Linked DNA regions of Homo sapiens: region 1 is linked to region 2. Evidence: promoter capture Hi-C in human tissues and cell types (Jung and others, 2019). All regions are on one chromosome and are shown on one strand. The core of a region is centred on a gene start or on the middle of the fragment in contact, and the rest is flanking DNA. Distances in the headings are between cores, read along the strand shown. Region 1 overlaps CFH (complement factor H). Region 2 holds the start of F13B (coagulation factor XIII B chain).

Region 1 (3,202 bases), core at 57-2,556, 350 kb before region 2:
AACACAAGCACAGGTCTACTTATCCAGAGATTTTATTCTAATATAAGACAGTGGAAAACTAAAAAGAGATAAGCCAAATATCCAAGTAATAAAAATATTTAAAATATATTTTATGTATCACTGTGTACAGAGAAATAGAAAATCCAATAATTGAGATAGAAAATAGGAGGGAAGGAACTGGAGATCTGTTTTACATAGGAAGTCATCGATGCAAAGAATGGTTGAAAGCCATTTGTTATAGTGAGAAGGGTATGTGCAACAGCTGAGGCAGCGAAGAACTTGACCTTTTTAATAAAATTCAAAGATCATAAAATCTGAATCCTGGATTTAGTGGAGGAGAGAGACATTTGATAACATTGGAAGAGTAGGCATGGATCATAAAGAGGTTGAGTTTTGCTCTAATTGAGAGGGGGAGGCTTAATTTAAGAGACTCATAAATTTCTTTTCTGTGATGATAGGTAAATTTAGGTTTTATGAAGCCAGAAGCTTTTACAATTTTGAGGGGTCTTCTTCAAAAAAGAACACAAAATTGTGAATATATTGCTTCAGTAGTCTTTCCAATCACCAGACATGAAATGAAAACCTAAAGGAGAGAAAGTTGGAGTGGCGGACATAGCAGTAGAAGCTGATGTAGAAAATGTCTTTCTATTGCAAATTGTACAAAGACTTAGGATCATTTGAACACATAACTAGGAATTTGCTAGTATAGTACAGGCCTCCAAACATTAAACGAAGAAATACCAGCTTAGTATTCTTTTCAAATATTCTTCTCTCAGCCATGTAACAGAAAACTGCATGTGGATTGACAGACATCTGAGTATATTTCAAGTGTCCTAGGAGGTCTCTTCTTTGTGGAAAGGTTTCCACAGAATTGTTATTATGGAGCACTTAAGCTAAATAAGGAGTATGTATCTCAGAGTTAAAAATTCATATTAACATTTCACATATCTAGTACTAGGACTTAGGGTTTTGAGTTTTAGATGAAGAAAAATATTTCTAATTCATGGAGTGTCCATTCACATTCTTCTCTAAATCACGTTTTGTAAGTTATTACCTCTATATAAATACAGCATTTGAATAATACCCAATAATCAAGATCTTAACTTTCCTTTTTAAGATAATGCTTTTCACAATATTACAACAGACAGAATTTATATAAAATTAGCACAAAATACGTGAACAAACACACATACAAAAAAAAGAATTGCTATGTAGAAGATTGGTATAGACTTTTAGGAGAGAAATCCCAGTGATTCTCATTCAAGTGTGATTTTCTCAAATAATCTGCAAAACTCATTAAAACAAACACAAAAGCAAATTTTTGTAGTTATTATTTTGTGACATTACTTTTAAGAATAGTTTTAAATCTAATTTTGTAATTGTATTTTAATAATTGAGGTTATGATGTAATTAATTTTCTTTTTAGTATGATTCTAATTTATGAATTCTAGCTTGTACTTTTCTAAGTTAGCAAGAAAGGAGGATTCTGAATAAGAAAAATAATATTTTGGATAATATTTAGTAATGTTGCTGATTTTTAAAAATTATAAACATGTAAGAGATAATTTTACACATTTCTTATCTGAATCAGAATAATTATCAAATTTATTAAACATTGATATAAATAGTACATATAACAAAAATTGTTATATGTTAACATAAATATTCAGGATACCTAGAATTTGCCTTTCCATGTGAACTTGAAAATTTATCTTGGTTTGTTTTCTTTATTTGTAATATATTAATTATGTGTTTTTTATATTTTTTTTAACTTAAAATATATTAGAAATGCTATTTTGGGTTCTTTTTCCTTGATTACATTAAACAAAAATACCAATTTTAATTAATTTCTTAGTGCATATATCTTCACTAATAAATCTTTGATGAGAATTTACCTTTTTGTGATGTATATGTCAGTCATCAAGAATTATAAACATGATGAGACCAGAAATCATTTGAGGTTGTTTAGTTTCAGTTAAATAAAGTTATCATTGACTCTGCAATGACAGATATTATACCATCATTATTCTCGGGATCCTCCCCAGTTCTATTATAAATTTAACTTCTTAAGATATTTCCATGGTGTTTTATGATGTGTTCTTTTATTTTTAAAATTTTAATTTCTATGTTTTATATGTTTAGATGGTCCAAATGCAGTTTTGTTGCATGGATATATTGCATAGTGGTGAAGTCTGTACTTTTAGTGTATTCATCACCCAAATACTGAACATTGCACCCATTAGGTAATTTCTTATTCCTCACCCTCCTGCTATCCTGCCACATTTCTGAGTCTCCAATGTCTGTTACTCAGCACTCTCTGTCCATATGTACGCATTATTTAGCTCTCACTTATAAGTGACAATATGTGGGATTTTACTTTCTGAATCTGAATTATTTTACCTAAAATAATGGCCTTTAGTTTTATACATGTTGCTTCTGAAGGCATGATTTTATTCTTTTTTTTTCTTTTTATTTTTTGTTTTGGCTGAGTAGTATTCTATGGCATATATCTATACCACATATTCTTTATCCAATCATCTGTTGGTGGACAATTAGTTTGATTCCATATTATTGCTACTGTGAGTAGTGAGGCTATAAACATATGAGTCTGGGTATCATTTTGATATGATAATTGATTTCCTTTGGGTAGATACACAGTAGTGGGATTGCTGGGTGAAATGGTAGTTCTGTTTTTAGTTCTTTGGGAAATGTCCATTCTGTTTTCCATAGAGGTTGTACTAATTTACATTCCCACCAACAGCGTATAAGCATTCTTCTTTCTCCTCACTGTCACCAACATTTATTATTTTTTGACTATTTGACAGTGGCCACTGTGTCTAATGTAAGATGATAACTCATTTTTTTAATTCGCATTTCTCTGATGATTACTGATATTGAGTTTTTATTTCATATTTCTTGGTCATTTTCATGTCTTCTTTTGCAAAATATCTCTTCATATCCTTTGTCCACTTTTTCATGGGATTATTATTTTTTTTTCTTGTTGTGTTGTTTCAGTTCTTTGCAGATTCTGGATATTAGCCCTTTTTCAGATTCATAGTTTGCAAATATTTTCTTCCATTCTGAGGTTGTCTGTTTACTCTGTTTATTATTTCCTTTGCTGTGAAGAAAATTTTTAGTTTAATTCACAATCACCCAGAAGCAGGTCATTTAATTTTCATGTATATGGATAGTTTTGAAAATT
Region 2 (3,172 bases), core at 642-3,141:
ACTAATCACATATAAACCAGGAAATCACAGATGTCTGAACATATTAAAAAAAGTACATGAAGCGATGGACACACTTACTACTGATCAGAGAATGGTAAATAAATAAAAATGGGATATCACTTTATGAATAACCATATAGCAACCAGTACAAAAATGGACAATATGAGGTGTTGGTGAGAATGATGAGGAGCAACAATTTACATCCTCTCTCAGAGATGATATACTTCAAAACTGCCATTCTGCAAAAGTAATCTCTCATTACAGAAATCAAGTACAAGAATAGACTCAATAATGCTATCTGTGAGTGAATACAGACTGATGACATTCTTACAGAAAGATAAGTTGGTTATATTACAATATTCATTCCAGAGCTATTTGTGGTTGAGAGAGCTAGAGTAACATGTTAAAACATTGTAGTAGGTCCCAGGGGAAATGGACTTCAAGATTAGGAATAAGGGGATAAAATGTGTAAGTAAAGCAAGAGTGAGACCTTTCATAGGCCAATAATACTTGCATACCATGAAATGAGAAACACAATTAATTCAATTCTTGTCCCTGAAGTGCACAATGGGAGTTGAGAGAAGCATGCAAAAATAAAATCATTGTCTTGGTCTTCAAGCAGCTTACTTTTTTTTTTGTTGTGTAAAATAGCATTATAACCTTATAATAATTAGAAAATTAACTAGAATATTGCAATGTCTTTATGGTATAGATAACAGACAATTATATCTGCTGGTATTTCCCTATTTAGACAGAAAAATAAAATCAAAAGAAATTCATGCAAAAATCATCCTATTATAGAATTAAAAGTATAAAATAAGATTAATTCTGTGTCTTTCACTTTTATAATTTTAATTATAGATGTTTTGGTAGAAAATTTATAGTTAACTATTCAACTAAAACACAGTTAAAACTTATGTATTTAATTTCAACAAATTCCCAAAAATGTTTATTTTAGAAAAGCTGTATTGCTGTAGCTTCCTTCTTTGTATGTTCACTCTTGCTAATGCTAAGTGTCCTCCCTGGATTCTTCATCCTATGGCCTGATAATATTGATAATGTTCCTGAACAACATACCCATGTACACTGCCTAGCTTCCACTCGCACACTAATCTTACACATTGGGCAATCTGACTATAAAGCTTTCTAATAGGGAGTCCATAGGTATTGGTTTGTTTGGAAAGTCCTGATTTACATGTGTTGTCCAAACAGTTATTAATAGAGCCCCTCTTTTACTCTCTAAGTGTCCCTGTTTGTACAAGCAATTATATGGTTCACCTACTAATCACTACTTAATGTCTCCAACAAATGAATAATTCATTGTGATAAAAATCAAAGTCTCAAAAGTAAAAAATATTTATGGCTATTTCCTTTTCAAATTTCCCACATTAAACTCTCACCTTATGAACAGAATTAAAATTGTACAAGTTTTGTCAGTATTAGGAATGGATTCTAGCATAAATTTAGAATTAAAGTTAACATGTGACTTCGAAATGGACATATTGTTAACCTGAAAACCTTTTCGAAGTATTTAGATCCTGGTCTCCTATGCCCCCTAGAGATACAAGGGTTTTTGTTTTGTTTTGCTTTTCTGACTTATGCTACTGTAAGAACACTTTACTAATTTTGCTCAAAGGAAAAGGTCTAAATATTATAAAAAGTTATATTTATAAAATATGTTATAAAATTGATAATGAAAATAGAAGAGTATATTAAAACTTGAGTTGTATAAATATTAGAATCTCCATTTGTATGTTTTAGAGAATAAAGAATATTAAGAATTAATTTTACCTTCTGCATAGAGTTCTCCTGAGATTATCAATATGATGATAAAAGTCAGGTTTTTCAACCTCATCTTCAGTGGTGTGCTTCACAAAGATTTTAACAATTCTAAGCACTAGGAACTTGTCATTAAGTACACAATACTTCTCTTGAGGAAAAAGTTAATAATTTATAACCTCTGTCTAAGTCCTTTTGTAACGAGTCTTATATTTCACTTAAAATATTTTGAAATAATGTTAAAATAACACAACTATATTAATTGACATTACTTACCATGTCAGAGTCCAGTAAGAGCATGATAACTGATTAGGGCAACAATAGCAGCAGAATAAATAATAAATTATAGCAGCAGAATAAATAATACTAGGTAAATTTTCAACCTAAGTTCCCAATTGTAAATTCATAGAGTAAAGTTCACTTGAGGCCATAGATCTTTACTAATATTGATCAGGTAAAAAGATGAACTTAGGAACATGAGATAACAGATACCTGATGTTGAAATATGTTGTTGCCTAGACTGCACTCCTTAAAGAGATACAGAACCATAGTTGTCTCAATGATAGAATAGTATTACTTATAATAGTAGTGTTTGACATTTAGAGAGTTTTTACTTTGTGGCAGGTGGTGAGATCAGCACTGTGCTATATCAACATTCATTCATGAGAAATGTTTAGAACGTCCATGATAATGGCAGCACATGTAACAGTTTTGAGGTATTTAGCAGTGAAAAAACTGGATTAAAATTATTGCCCTCATGGAGTTTACATTCTAATGAGTTTTAATTTAAAATACAAAATAGGAAAAAATGGTGGATAGGAGGCAGGACTAACTTGCAGCTCCCACTTGGATGGACAGAGCAGGATGTGGAGACTCGCATTGTGAACTTTTGCTCCAAGAACTGCTGCAAGGATATAACAGGAAAGCCAAGATAATCCACAGACCCTCTGAAGAAAGTATATTGCTCCTGCATGACCCAGAAAATAGCCCACATACTGTGAATGCCCAAACTGTGAAAAGTGTGAAAGGGGTATTGTCCACCCCTGAACACACACCCTTGGGGAACCTGAAGGTCTAGATCACAGGAGAAGGATTTGACCTTACCTGGAGCTCAGACAATTTAGAGAGCTGAGCGAAATACAGGGGTAGAGGAAGCAAAGGGTAAAGCCCCATCGTCTCTGTGGGTCCCCAGAGAAGCCATTTCTGACTTGTCTCACAGGGGCTGCCGGAGGAACTGGGAAAAGACCACAGGGAGAAGGAAACCTCCAGCTGAACTTAGTAACAATTCCAACCGAACACAAACTTTCCTGTCCAGAACTCAGGAAAGGGCGTGAATCTGGTGTGCAGACTTAACAGGTAGGGAGGCACAAAAGTCTGGCTTGCATTCTCAGCT

The links. The method cuts DNA at HindIII sites, captures the fragments that hold promoters and counts their contacts. A contact is called where the count stands out against the background at its distance.
Region 1: a contact is called between a fragment that was not itself captured here and the fragment with the promoter of F13B in region 2, in 1 of the 25 tissues and cell types used here (thymus).

What each region holds. Positions count from the first base shown.
Region 1 is chr1:196,718,165-196,721,366 of GRCh38, forward strand. The region is part of intron 11 of CFH (complement factor H); the gene reads left to right. Among named protein-coding and RNA genes, the nearest start is that of CFHR3, 55 kb to the right of the region's middle. The HindIII fragment of the contact is 7,403 bases long and covers 1-3,202 here.
Region 2 is chr1:197,065,369-197,068,540 of GRCh38, forward strand. F13B (coagulation factor XIII B chain) reads right to left here and starts at 1,892. Exons shown (of 12, transcript NM_001994.3): 1 at 1,792-1,892. The coding sequence starts at 1,855. RefSeq lists an enhancer at 3,000-3,172. The HindIII fragment of the contact is 20,654 bases long and covers 1-3,172 here.